Linked DNA regions of Homo sapiens: regions 1, 2, 3 and 4 are each linked to region 5. Evidence: promoter capture Hi-C in 16 types of primary human blood cells and fetal thymus (Javierre and others, 2016). All regions are on one chromosome and are shown on one strand. Each heading gives the region's core, a stretch centred on a gene start or on the middle of the fragment in contact. The rest is flanking DNA. Distances are from core to core; before and after follow the strand shown. Region 1 overlaps SYNPO2 (synaptopodin 2). Region 2 holds the start of METTL14 (methyltransferase 14, N6-adenosine-methyltransferase non-catalytic subunit). Region 3 has its middle 100 kb from the start of METTL14-DT. Region 4 overlaps SYNPO2 (synaptopodin 2). Region 5 holds the start of SEC24D (SEC24 homolog D, COPII component).

Region 1 (2,700 bases), core at 46-2,545, 190 kb after region 5:
AGGGCTCCAGCAGGAAATAGGTGGCATGCTCAAAGAAGAATTCAATATAATGCAATGCAGAGACTAAAGGTAGTCTTAAGGGAACCAACAAATGATAATGAAGCACCCAGAAATCCAGAGATTGAGAGCAGGAAACTATTATCACTCATAGGCCCAAAGGTACAAGGAGATAATGTGTGTTGTTGGAACCTAACGAGTTAAGGCAATGATAGAGGGGCAGGCTGACAGGAGCTGCAACTCTCTAGACTGAAGAACAGAGCCACTGCTAAGCCATGGCCCAGCAGGTCCACCAAGGAGAGCATAGACCTGACCTCTCATTTCCCTTGGTCTTTGATCTCTTACTGGAGTAAGAATATTCCAGTAGATTATGACACAGTGCTTATGGCAGGGCTGCTTTTACTTTCTGCAAAGTAATCTCTTTTTTCTTTCTTTTTTGCTAAAGTTTGCTTAGTACCATGCCTGGAGTAGCTGATTTCAATGAAGCATTTCTCTCTTTGACATATTCCCTAATATCCAGGCTCCCTGGTGCCCCACTATACTGGGATGGTTTTTATCAGTCCATTTAGCTATACAGCTCTCTCCTCAAACAAGTTGCCCCGTCCTGTACCTCCTTCTTATAGTCATGGCGTTTCATTCACCTTGGCAATGGGAAGGATTTTAAAATTTATTGTAATGCAGGAGGTTACTTTCTCACTGGAGTAAAACCTTACAATGTGGAATTATCATCATCATAATAATAATGTTTTAAGACGGGGTCTTGCTCTGTCCCCCAGGCTGGAGTGCAGTGGCATGATCTTGGCTCACTGCAACCTCCACCTCCTGGCTCAAACAATCCTCCCACTTCTCCTGTGTGGCTAGGATCACAGGCATGCACCACCAAGCGGGCTAATTTTTGCATTTTTTGTAGGTTTTTTTTTTTTTTTTTTTTTTTTTTAGAGACAGGGTCTTACCATATTGACCGGGCTGGTCTCAAACTGCTGAGCTCAAGAGATCCACCTGCCTCAGCTTCCCGAAGTGCTGGGATTATAGGCATCAGCCACTGTGCCTGGCCTGAATTATTTATTTTATTTTATTTTATTTTAATTGTATTTTATTTTATTTTATATTTTATTTTATTTTAATTTTATTTTATTTTATGTTTTATTTTATTTTATTTTATATTTTATTTTATTTTATTTTATTTTATTTTTGAGACAGAGTCTTGCTCTGTTGCCCAGGCTGGAGTACAATGGTGCGATATTGGCTCACTGCAACCTCCACCTCCCGGGCTCATGCAATTCTCCTGCCTCAGCCTCCTGAGTAGCTTGGACTACAGGCGCACACCACCATGCCCAGCTAATTTTTGTACTTGTTAGTAGAGACGGGGTTTCACCATGTTGGCCAGGCTGGTCTCGAACTCCTGACCTCGTGATCCACCCGCCTTGGCCTCCCAAAGTGCTGGGATTACAGGCATAAGCCACCACGCCTGGCCTGAATAATTATTTTTAATGCCATCAATGTAAGCCTTTAACATCTTTTTTCACTCTTCTCTATTTTTTATTTCTTTAATTCTGTCTGGTACCTTTACATTGATTTATTTACTTTCTTTTTTCCTGTTTACTTACAATGCTATGAATTAAATGTTCATATTATGGTACATGATAAAGTGTGTGGCTGTGTGTGTGTTCATAAGGTGGTAAGAAGTATTTAAATGGTCTTACAGGTTAACAGGTGAATTAAAATTCAGGGCTGGTGTTACTGTTGACAGATTTGTTTCTCAGAGATGGTGGCTTGCTTTTTACAAATTATATCATTCTACTATGTCTTCTTTTTTTACTCCACTCAGATTCGAAATCAGAGCAAAGCCTCTGGGTCTGGGCTCTGTGAGGGAGATGAAGTGGTTTCCATCAATGGCAACCCTTGTGCAGATCTCACCTACCCTGAAGTCATCAAGCTCATGGAAAGCATAACAGACTCTCTCCAAATGCTCATCAAAAGGTACAACAGATTTGCTGGAATATGTATTTTCTCTTGAAGCTACATGGGAATGATTATAGCTTTTACTACATATATAACTTGTCATTTATGGAGAAATTAGGGGTGCTTTGTAGAAGGTTAGGTATAGTTAAACAGAAACACCACTGTGTTTGAAAAATAGTCAATTCTAGTCAACCAAACTTTCTGGTTAATTGAGAATTAAGTTGAAAATGCTTGTTTCAAGCACTTTGTTGAAAATCTTAGGTATTTTAGGCTCCTTCCTTAGAAAGCTCAGTATATTGAGCATAACTTAATATTTCTTTGATAGGTCAAGATTTTGTGATGGATCAGAATCACTCAATTGTAATTATCAGATGCACAGATGAATTAAAAATGTTTAAATATTAGACCATTAAACTGTACAATTTTTCATTAAAAGGATGCTTAAGAGACAGAAAAGAGAAACAACAACAAAAACTTACAAGCAGCCGGATTTCTCCAGTAAAACCAATATTTGAGGATGGACAAAAGCAGATGATTAGAATAAGGTTTTTGCACGACCAACACAGGTCATTTGGGAATTCAATCTCTTCAAATACCACCATCCCCACATAGTTGTTTAACAATATAAAAGAAACCTTTAAATGTAAAAAACAAAAGAAAACAATGAGGACAATAACAAGGAAAACTACAGCATTGACATTTTTATGGTGTACAAATCACAGTACAATCCATACTGATTTT
Region 2 (2,700 bases), core at 120-2,619, 150 kb before region 5:
CTCCTAGGACATAAACCAAGACACGCTTTACTATCACATACTCATTTCCCTAAAGGGAAGAAGCCAAAAAATGCATACTATAGTAAAATGGGAAACATTTCAAGGGACAGTAAGGTGTGGGGAAGAGTGGGCAGATGTTGTGGCTGTTACCTGCGTGAAGGTAAATAAAATATTAACAATAACAAGCACTTCTACACCGCTATGTGCAAGGTGCTATTTATCCTTTCAATCACAGCTCTGTGAGGTAGACACTTATGACTCCCATTTTACAGATGACAAAACTGAGGCTCACGAAGGTGGTTAACTAGCCAAGGCCACTCGTCTAGGAAGTGAGAGGCCAAGGTTCAATCCTAGGCAATCTGGCTTAAGTTTGTGTTCTGTTAAAAAAAAAAAAATTAAAGGTTATCTGGCAATTTTTTAAACGTCAGGACTGTCATCTGTGGAATCAATTGAAAAGGGAATCAACACTTCAGAAACTGTAATACACCAAGGGAACCTGCTATCCTGGGAAAGAGAGATAAAGGAGAAGTCAGCTGACTGTCCTCCTTCAGACTAGCTCAGACCACCCCAACCTGCGAGGGCCCTGGAGACCCCTGTGGCGCAACAGATCCCTTACTGGGTCCCTTCCAAGTGGCGTCACATAGCAAGCGTCCAGAAGGAGGCGGGACTTCCGGGCCAAGCGAGCCAATTCCGGCCGCGCCGGAAGTCTCTACTGAGGAAAGCTATGAGGATACTCTGTTCGTAAGCTCCCGGTGAATTTTGTTCCACAGACTCGGAAGAAAGGTTGGATAAGAGTTCACTGGAGATTGACAAGTACTCGGGATAGTGAAAAGCCGGAGTTGGAACATGGATAGCCGCTTGCAGGAGATCCGGGAGCGGCAGAAGTTACGGCGACAGCTCCTCGCGCAGCAGGTCCGCGGCCCTGGTGTCCCCTGTGGGAGGGATCGAGAATGCGAGTGCGCGGCCGCCTCCTCCCTCCACACCCCGCCTTTTTCTGTCCCTTCTCTACCTGCCGCTGTTAAGGCCTTTCTGGTCCTGCGATCTTGATCCCTGGTTCTGCCTTTGTAGTTCTCAATTTTCGCGGTGTCCCGAATGTTTTTCCAGTTCCTTCCGCGGTCTTTGTGGTGCTAAACCGAATGCCAGGATTAGCCTTTAAGCTTTGTGGAACTCCCACCGAGTGTCTGGCATGTTCACGCCAGGATGAGTGTCATGTTATCCCCTACATTTCTCTTCACTATTAAATGGTCATCTATTTCTTTCTTTTCTTCGTCGTCAGCCCCAAATTCTTGAGATTGTGGTTTCATTATGAAATACGTTTACAGTATTTTCTTTGACATCTTTCTGAAGACAACACTGGAAGTAGCCTGAGTGTAAATTTTAGATTCTGCATCTTATATAGAGTATCCTTGTCACATCCACAGTTAATATTTGAAATCTTACTCTGTGTTAGTCACAATAATCTCCTGAAACAGGTATTATTACCTTCACTTATCAAGTAATGAAAAAGGCTCCATACGTTAAGGAATTTTACTCCTGGTCGCTCACTTCTCTGCTGGGAAATAGAACCTAGGTTTGTCTCCCCAAAGCTTGTCTTCTAAACCATTGTCCTTCACTTCTTTCTTGTGTATGAGTAAGTTAACATTTGCTGATTAGTAGAGTGCACATGCAGAAAATACAGATTGTGCACAGTTCTACTTAAAATCGAGGCTGTATTTTCCATTCTACTATTCAGATCAGTAAAAGTGATAGGAGCAATGCTCATAGAGTGTAATTAGTCATCTTGCAGTTATTTTTCAGTAATGAAACTTGGTTTTAGTAAATGGACTTCTGAAACCTATCCTCTTTATGGTCTGATGAACAGATTTGTGGAATATGGCTAAAACCGTGGAAACTTGGAGTCAGATTTGTTCCTTTGTTCCTTATCCCGCTGGCATTACGATCTTGGGCAAATCAAGTATCCTTTCTAAGTCTTCTTTTCGCCAACTTCTTTTATCGTATTATCTTCAAAAATGTTAAGTAGCTCTTTGTTGCTACCACAGAAGACGTTTTACTCCTTAATATTGAATTCAAACTTCTATTTGACTCAATATACATTCATAGGACAATTATTTGTTTAGTGTTTTACACTCAGCAGATGCCAGGGGCTCTACCTTTTAAAGTCTTTTATGAATTGGTTGCACTCTACTTAGCCAGCCTTATAACCATTATTTGTTTACATTTGTTTGTATTTTGCAAAATTTTCCAAACTGCCAAACAAAATTTATGTTACCATTTTAAGGTAGTAAAGTTCAGCCTTGTGTCTATAAATAGTAAGACTTAGCTTGAGTAAAACTGGATCGATTTTTATTAGAGCATAGAATAAATAAGTTATATAAGCTGATGCCTACAAAATGTTTAACATGGTACCCACAACCCTGTGCAAACACTGTCTTATCTGCCTTTTTTAGTTATTGCTATTGCAGGTTGAATATCTCTTATCTGAAATGCTTGGGCCAGAAGTGTTTTGGATTTCAGATTTTTTTCAGGATTTGGAATATTTGCATATTACTTACTGGTTGAGCATGCCAAATACCAAAACTCAAAATCGGAATGCTTCAGTGACCATTTCCTTTGAATGTCATGTCAGTACTCAAAAAGTTCCAGATTTTGGAGCGTTTTGGATTTTGGATTTTCAGATTTGGAATGCTCATTTTATATTAA
Region 3 (2,793 bases), core at 219-2,718, 250 kb before region 5:
GCCTGGCCAACATGGTAAAACCCTGTTTCTACTAAAAATACAAAAATTAGGCGGGCATGGTGGCGGGTGGCTGTAATGCCAGTTACTCGGGAGGCTCAGGCAAGAGAGTCACTTAAACCCAGGAGGTGGAGGTTGCAGTGAGCCAAGATTGTGCCACTGCACTCCAGCCTGGGTGACAGAGCGAGATTCTGTCTCAAAAACAAAAACAAAACAAACCTGTCACTTGACCTACCACAAATGAATTTACATGCAGCCCTTTGGCCATGTGTTTACTGGCTAAAAGATGTCACTCCATAACCTCCTTTTATTTGTCTCCAAATTACAATGAGTTTAAGTGATAATTAATGTTAAGCAGCACCTAAAAAAGGCAGAATCCCAAGGTTGGAGGGGGTCACTAAACAGAGATTTCCATTTAGAAAAACAAAACAAAACAAATTCCTGTTCTCTATCTGAGAGCAGCTCCTAAACATGCAGACAAGACTTGACCTCATTCTCCTGTGTGTCTTTTCTGAAAAAATTCCTTTGTGCTCAGGGATATTGTGAGAAATAGAATTACATCAGTGAGTTGGTTTCTAATCAGCATGTGAACACCAAGTTCCAGATGGCAACGCACAGTTTCAATTTCACTATGTGCTGAAATTATTTATCGATCCCTATTAAATAGCCAGCAGCACCATATTCTGGACTAGACTTCAATAATTCTAAATGATTCAATCTGCTTTGTAAATATGGCTGCTGCAACCCGACTGTGACATTTCTGGGATGGCATTTCATTCTGTTTTGCCTCAGTGTATTCACAGGTGGCCAGTTCTTATTTACAGATAGAAACCTTCCACCTCGCTTCCTCCTTAAGATCTGTTAAGATGTGTTGAAGCTTTGAGAGTTCAGACCAGTCTCAATAATAGCAGAGATGCTGGTCTGGCAGCTGATGTCCCACTGGCTGTAGATCCCAATGAACATGAAGCTAAGAAAGTCAGCCCTGAGTATTGGGGAAACAGAGAAAGACAAGCAGGGTGGATGTGTGGTGGAGGAGGAAGGAATGAGGACGGTTCAGAACTTCGGGACAGATCAGGGCAGCCAGCTCACAGCATCAGGCCGGTGCTCAGATCTGTAGCAGTCAGTGCTCAAGGACAGACAGGGAGGCGTCTGGATCCAGGTGGTGGCAAGCTCATTAATTCATTTAAAAAACACTGATTGGGCATTGTCTTAGTCCATTTGTGTGGCGATAAAGGAATACTTGAGGCTGGGTAATTTATTTAAAAAGAGGTTTATCTGGCTCACAATTCTGGTGGCTGGAAGACTGGGCTTCTGGGGAAAACCTCAGGCTGATTCCACTCATAGTGGAAGGCAAAGGGGAGCACGTGTGTGCAGAGATCACATGGCAAGACAGGAAGCAAGAGAGAGCAGGAAGGTGCCAGGCTCTTTTTTTTTTTTCTTTTAATCTTGAAACAGTCTCACTCTATTGCCCAGCTGGAGTGCAATGGCGCGATCTTGGCTCACTGCAACCTCCACTTCCCAGGTTCAAGCAATTCTCCTGCCTCAGCCTCCCAAGTAGCTGGGACTACAGGCGTACGCCATCACGCCTGGCTGATTTTTGTATTTTTATTAGAGACAGGGTTTCACCGTGTTAGCCAAGATAGTCTTGATCTCCTGACCTCGTGATTCACCTGCCTTGGCCTCCCAAAGTGCTGGGATTACAGGCATGAGCCACCGCGCCTGGCCTGGGCTCTTTTTTAATAACCAGTTCTCCTGGAAACTAATGCCGCACCCTGGGCATTAATCTATTCATGATGGATCCGCCTTCGTGACCCAAACACCTGTTAGGCCCCGCCTCCAGCACTGGGATCAAATTTCAACACGAGGTTTGGGAGGGCAAATAGCCAAACCATAATAGGCACCTACTAAGTTCAGAGAAATATCTAGAGTCCAGGCAGATCAAGTCAAGACGCAGGGATCAGGAAACAAGGTTGCAGAAGTCAAGGAACAAGCCAAAGAGCTCTGCCAATAAATCCAGGATGAGGTCTCCGTAAATTCGTGTCAATTTCCATGGTAACTATCCCCAGGAAGCTTGCCATTTGGAGCAGGATTTCTCAAATAGTGGCCTCTAGATTTACAGCGTCACAATTTTGCTGGGTAAAGGGAGAATAGTGAAGCATGAAAAAAATGCAGATTCTAGTGTCGCAACCCAGACAGACTGAATCAGAATCCCTGAGGATTCTGAATTTCCAAGAAAATAAAGCCACTCACTTCCCATTGGGATTCTTCTGCAGCCTTTTGAGAACCACAGGTTTATAGGGATCTTTCAGTGACTTTGTTTTGGAAAATGAAAAAAAAAAATTTGAAAAAGCAGCTGCTGGAGTTTGGACAAAAGCTCAAATTTAAAAAGAATTCCCATAACCTCTTCATTAGATTTCTCTATCGGCACCACGGCAGTCATCGTTTACGTTACCGACACTGAACTTGTGAAATAAAGTGATGCTGGAAACGAGTCTGGAAGCCTGGCCCTCTGCACCCTCCTCCCAGTCAGAAGTACCTTTTTGTGAAGTGACACAATGTCCTGGTGAGACCGGCCCTTCCTGGAGGCAAGGACTTATGTTTTGCATATCTCTGTATGCCCCGCCTCTAACCCATGGCTAGAATATCGCAGAGGCTCAATCAATAATCAGTTAGCTCTGCTTTACAACCCAGCCCAAAATTCAGTGGCTTAAAACAGCTGTCTTGCTTTTGCTCAGGAGCTGTGAGCCAGCTGGCGTGGGTTGATCTACACTTGGTTCAGCTGAGGTTAGCTGTCAG
Region 4 (2,738 bases), core at 95-2,594, 140 kb after region 5:
CTCCCTTGGATAAGATGCATGAATGCTTTTACCTTAACCACCCCACATATTATTTACAAATTTGTCTGTATATGATAGAAAGATAAATATACTTCCCATAGCAGATAACCTCATTTCATTATTATAAAGGGACTGTAGTAGAAAACTGGTCTTGCTATATCCAATTACTGCCAAAATAGAGAAAGCTACAAACACTCTAGAACCAAGGTGGGTGGATTTGGCCTATGACCACATAGGCTTTCTAAAGGTTCCCTTCATCTCAGAAGCATTTGCACATGCAGAGAAGAAGTCCTTAGAAGAGGACTAGAACACGGTGGGTGCTTTATAACTCCTTGTCAATAAATGAATGAATAAAGTAATCAATCAAAAAGATCACTTTAGTTTTTCTCAGAGAAATGTCAACATGAGTTCCAGAGGACACAGAATCTTTTCATTTGTTTTGACCCCCAATGATACTTTGTCTCCTTAGACAGGCTTGTTGTTAGACCAACACTCTCTGGGGTGGCAAAAAGCTGGGGTCACTTTGGGACTGAGCACATTCTGGTGCTAGTGAAAGGTCCCGTGAGCACCTTCGCTCCTTCTCTCCCTCCGTGTTAAAATGCAATATGTTATTCTTTGACATGAAGATGAATATATGTTATATTTGATTTCTGAGATTTGCTCAGTGTCTTAAGTTAGCTGTTTTGGCTAATGTTTAGTAAATTACTCTAAACAATAAGCAGATAATTATTATGTGTCTTTTAAACTGAAAACAAAGCGAACCCATGACTCTTAAGAACAAGGAGCCAGAATCCATGGATGGTTATGTTATGCCAGTGTTTTCAAGACAGCAGAGGACTGGGCAACTATCTCAAAGGTCCCAAATGTTGAAGGCTTAGAGTAGCTCTCCTACATCCCACCATCCTTTTAGGCTTTAACTTGAAATGATCAGTTTTACTCACAATGAAGATGCACTGGACAATGTGACTTAGACCTGAGGCTAGAATGGCGCTTCCATATCTTTTAGGAATTAATGTTTATTACATTAAAGCCAATGGGTCTCCAGTGAAAGGGCAACCTGACTTATTCATTCATAGACAGCAAAGCTGGCCTGGAGAACAAAAGCTAGCTGGGCCTGCTAGGGCAGGGTTTGCCTACTTTCTGGGTCCTGAAGCACAAGTGAGCGCATCATCTGTGAACACAGTGGTCTGAGGCAGTAAGAGAAAGACCTGGCCAGCTTTTCCTTTTCAATGCAGTAACCATGGTCTCTGAAAAATAATGGCTCAATGACTCAGTCTCTCTTTAATCAAATTAGCTACTCTTCCCATGCCGAGAAGTGACAGGAGAGATCCAGAAGTGTTATGTTCTCCCATCCATGAGAGGGGTGGACATTCCCTCTTTTGAGAAAGTGTAAGAAGGAAAATAATGGTTTCTTCAACATCACATAATTCTACAGGGATAGACCTCATAGTGTGGTCCCAGTGAGCGTCATAGTACTCTACAGTGGTCTTGAACAGCTTCGTAGGCTTACATGTAGAACTCTATTTAATCTCCACAGAAATTCTATGTAGGAGTTATCCTAACTTCTGACGAGAACTTCCTCAGAACATAAAAGAAAGAGAGGAGACAGAATAATATTTAACTATACTTATAAAAACAATTCTGAGGCCGAGTGCAGAGGCTCATGCATGCCTGTACACTTTGGGAGACAGAGGTGGGAGGATCACTTGAGCCCAGGAGTTTGAGACCAACCTGGGCAGCATGGGGAGACCCTGTCTCTACAAAAAAAGAAAGAAAAAATAGCCGGGTGTAGTGGTGCGTGCCTGTAGTCCCAGCTACTTAGGAAGCTGAGGTGGAAGGATGGCTTCAGTCCAGGAGGTGGAAGCTGCAGTGAACTGTGATTATGCCACTGCATTCCAGCCTGGCTGACAAAGGGAGACCCTGTCTCAAAAAAAAAGAAAAGGGAATTCTGAGATTTCAAGCAGAATCTGATTCCCTTACATTTCCCCAAATAGGAAAATAAAACACTTTTTATGTATTTTTTTCTTTTCCTCCAAGCCCTTCAAACTGTAAGGGCAGTTTGTCTAAACTAACTCAGAAGGGAAACGAGCAAATTTGTCTCTTAGGTGCTAGCTTTGTTTTTTCTCCATCACTTCTAGCATTGTCCTCTTAGGATTGTTGTCAGGTTTACAGAGTCAGCAAGGGTGAAACTGTTTTGCCCACTGCCTACAATTTTAAGTTATACATCTCTAAGTTTAAATCTAGTTCTGTGACCTTGGGCAAGCTACAAAAATCTCCTCAAAGTTCAGTTTACTTTTCATCACATAGTGAGTGCTTAATAATTTCAGTGTCTTTCATTTGAAAATTGGAAACAAATTAGATATTACAGGATCAGAAATACATATTTTGTAAGCTGGCTATCCCCGCTTGCTCACCTGCTTTTTCTCCCCATTCACACCACTTTTTCACACCAATGGTCCCCACTTATTATAACTCAACTTATGATGTTTCAACTTTACAATGGGCTTATACATGCATTAAATGCATTTTTGACTTATGGTATTTTTTGATTTATGATGGGTTTTGTGGGACATAGTCCCATTGTAAGTTGAGGAGCATCTGTAGAGTGAAAAACGTTTGAATTTTTGAGTAAGTCAGAATTATAGAATTAGTAATTCTATATTATTATGTGAATTCTGTTAATTATTATATGAATTCCATCAATTATAGAATTATTAATTCAAGGATTCTATTATACT
Region 5 (2,705 bases), core at 79-2,578:
TCCTTTTGTTCTTTTATTTGCTACAATTTAAGATAAGAGATCAGTGATACCTGCTAAGACTTAGAATCTGTCTATATTCAAGAAATAACATTTCAAATTAAAAATTTGAAGCCTAAAATTTGTGATTTGATTTTGTTTCCATATTAAACTATAAGTTTCCAAAATAAAAGCAACCATGTAAAAATATTATGAGATCATTTCCTTCTCCTGGGAAGGGGAGAACTGAAAAAGAGGAGAGAGGCAGGCAAAGGCCTTCTGGTCCACTTTGTTTCTGACAACCCCTTTTTCCTCCTCCCACTTAGCAGAGAGAGACGTGGCAGCCTGAGCGCTGGTCAAGCTCATCCAACCAAGAGCACTTAGGAAGTCGGCACGAACACACCTAAGTAGCAGCCTGTTGCTGAGTGACAGAAAAGAGAGGCTGAGATGGTCACTCCAAAGAACAGGAAGCAGCCAGTTCCCTCTGAACTGGTCCTCAGAGGAATCAGCTTCCTCACGCAACCCAGTTTGCCACGTCAAACTTCCTCACACAGAGCACCAAGTTAAAGAAACCTGACTCAGCTTCAAGCGGCGACACGGCAGAAAGCCACTTGGTATAAGCAGGCCTAGGATCAAAATCTGGGGAGCCCCAACCCCAGAACGGCCCCCTGGCTCACTGTCACCCAGCAACTCTAGCCAAGGTGCACTTCTAACCCTGGAACAAGTTCGTATTTGGCCAGATCAGTTTCACTATTCGGATGTCCCGAGGCTTCAAGATATAGTTGCCATTTTTACCATGAATATTTCTAACATTTCCTTCCTTCAAAAAAGGAAATTAAGTTGATAAGGAGATGAGAAAACCGCTGGCAATGACACTCGAATGGTGGCCACTGAGGATCCTAACAAGGCAGTTCCTGCATCCCAAGGCAAAAGGTGGGGGCGGGTAAAAAATGCCCACGCCCACCTCCTGCTCCCCCATCCCGCCGGCCCCACTATTAAACTGCACTAGAAGGCTAAAGAACAAAGAATGAGTTCTCCTCCCGCCGCCACTGCCTCAGGTGAGCACCCGGCCTCCCGCCGCGTCCCCGGGCCGGGCGCCGCAACCCGCTCCGCTGTGCCTGGGCAGGGCTGTCCCGCATGAAGGCGTCCGCGGGTGGGAGGCTTTACCTGTTCCCGCTCCCGCACCCCGCGGGCTTCCGAGCGCTGGCGGCTCTGCGCCTAGTGCCGGCAGCCCTCGGTGGCCGGGCTCCCGCTGCGGTCGCTTCTCCCGCCGCGCCTCTTCCCCGGCCGGCGTCCCCTTAGCCTGGACTCACGCTCGGAGTTGCAGCTGGGCTGGGAACTGCCACGTCAAACCCTTTCTCGGCTGCGCGCCCCCAGCGCCGGGCTTGGACCAGCCGCCGCGCTCCCGCCTGCGCACGCGCACAGCCACCGGCCGCCGCGGGGCGGGGCCACCGGGCTGAGCCTGCGAGCGGCCGAGCGACCTCCCCCTTTTCGCTTTTTCCCTTTTTCCGGTTTTTTGTTTTTTGGTTTTCTTTTTCCCGTCTTTTCTTTCCCCTCCCCCTACAGGTCAAAGCCTTTAACGTCGTGGCTAAATCAGAACCGTATTTTCTCGGCGCAGCCCCGCAGGAAGGAGGGGAGCGCGTTCATTCATTCTTCCATCAACAGGTTGCAGTTTCAGCTCTTCATTCATTACGTATTACTTAAATAACTAATAGTTCAGGTACTGCACTACCGTTACATACGGGAAAGTACACGATCTGGACCTAGGGGAGATTACCGTTTAAAGGCGAATCTGGCACGTGTACACGCACATTTGATGACGTACCCGTGCAATGCACTACAGAGGAAGGAACGCCCAAAGCAGCCTGGCAACGTGTAACGCGGGAGGAGTGGGGGGTGGGGGAGATGTCCCAAAGGAAAAGTGTGGGAAGTGGGGTTTCCATTGATATTGGGGTTGTTAGCGTTGTGTATACTCCTTCTTCCGCATATTCCTTGTTTGTGAAGTAGGATGGCTGATCCCAGCCCCAAACAGGAATCTCTGCATGGAAAAGCACCCAGCGTTTAGCTCACCGTCCTGTGAGAAACAGCTCAGAAATAAAGGCAACCTATATGAGATCTGGAGCTTACCTCTCTATCTCACCCTAAAATCAGGACCATCTGGCTGGTTTCCTATCATCTTTCACTGCTAAATAGAAAGACATTCAGCCACTCCCAGGTTTGGTATAGCTACCACTTTGCTCAAACTTACAAAGTAAAAACCAGCCCGGTGTTGTTGTTTTTAACATGCACTTTCTTCCCGGCTACAAGAAAGCCACTTGACAAATACCTTTACTGATGAACTGCCTAGGTAAAAACGTACATGGGGATGTTGCTACTCCCGAAATGCTACATGAATTGTGCAGGAATTTTAAGTCATTTTAGCAGTAAAGATATATGGTCCATTTATCCCACTCTTAAAAGTTTTTAAGGCATGGGGCAAGGCACAGTGGCTCACACCTGTTATCCCAGCACTTTGGGAGGCCAAGCAGGGAGGATTGCTTGAGGCCAGGAGGCAGTGAGCTATGATCACACCACTGCGTTCCAGCGTGGGCAACAGAGTGAGACCCTGTCTCAAGAAAAAGAAAAAAAGATTTTAAGGTAAGATATCTGGCCTACATCCAGCTTCAACACTGATCAGGTTTGAAAACCCACATTGAAATTTTTGTTTTAAATTGTTTCTTGTATTCTCA

The links. Contacts are between HindIII fragments. The CHiCAGO score rates a contact against its expected background, and 5 or more counts as called.
Region 1: a contact is called between a fragment that was not itself captured here and the fragment with the promoter of SEC24D in region 5, in 1 of 17 cell types (monocytes). The highest score is 6.4, in monocytes.
Region 2: a contact is called between a fragment that was not itself captured here and the fragment with the promoter of SEC24D in region 5, in 5 of 17 cell types (total CD8 T cells, non-activated CD4 T cells, total B cells and 2 more). The highest score is 6.9, in total CD8 T cells.
Region 3: a contact is called between a fragment that was not itself captured here and the fragment with the promoter of SEC24D in region 5, in 2 of 17 cell types (monocytes and fetal thymus). The highest score is 5.1, in monocytes.
Region 4: a contact is called between a fragment that was not itself captured here and the fragment with the promoter of SEC24D in region 5, in 1 of 17 cell types (monocytes). The highest score is 5.4, in monocytes.

The regions. Positions count from the first base shown.
Region 1 is chr4:119,021,605-119,024,304 of GRCh38, forward strand. It overlaps SYNPO2 (synaptopodin 2), which reads left to right. Exons shown (of 5, transcript NM_133477.3): 2 at 1,826-1,977. Among named protein-coding and RNA genes, the nearest start is that of SYNPO2-AS1, 38 kb to the left of the region's middle. The HindIII fragment of the contact is 2,902 bases long and covers 1-2,700 here.
Region 2 is chr4:118,684,689-118,687,388 of GRCh38, forward strand. METTL14 (methyltransferase 14, N6-adenosine-methyltransferase non-catalytic subunit) reads left to right here and starts at 704. Exons shown (of 11, transcript NM_020961.4): 1 at 704-912. The coding sequence starts at 847. METTL14-DT (METTL14 divergent transcript) reads right to left here and starts at 653. Exons shown (of 7, transcript NR_125930.1): 1 at 617-653. RefSeq lists enhancers at 663-922, 1,103-1,242. The HindIII fragment of the contact is 429 bases long and covers 1,156-1,584 here.
Region 3 is chr4:118,583,887-118,586,679 of GRCh38, forward strand. No RefSeq gene overlaps it. Among named protein-coding and RNA genes, the nearest start is that of METTL14-DT, 100 kb to the right of the region's middle. The HindIII fragment of the contact is 1,193 bases long and covers 873-2,065 here.
Region 4 is chr4:118,970,517-118,973,254 of GRCh38, forward strand. All of the region lies in intron 1 of SYNPO2 (synaptopodin 2), which reads left to right. All of the region lies in intron 2 of SYNPO2-AS1 (SYNPO2 antisense RNA 1), which reads right to left. Among named protein-coding and RNA genes, the nearest start is that of SYNPO2-AS1, 13 kb to the right of the region's middle. The HindIII fragment of the contact is 3,448 bases long and covers 1-2,738 here.
Region 5 is chr4:118,834,798-118,837,502 of GRCh38, forward strand. SEC24D (SEC24 homolog D, COPII component) reads right to left here and starts at 1,329. Exons shown (of 23, transcript NM_014822.4): 1 at 1,144-1,329. RefSeq lists enhancers at 685-1,576, 1,197-1,491 and a silencer at 1,003-1,492. The HindIII fragment of the contact is 6,235 bases long and covers 1-2,705 here.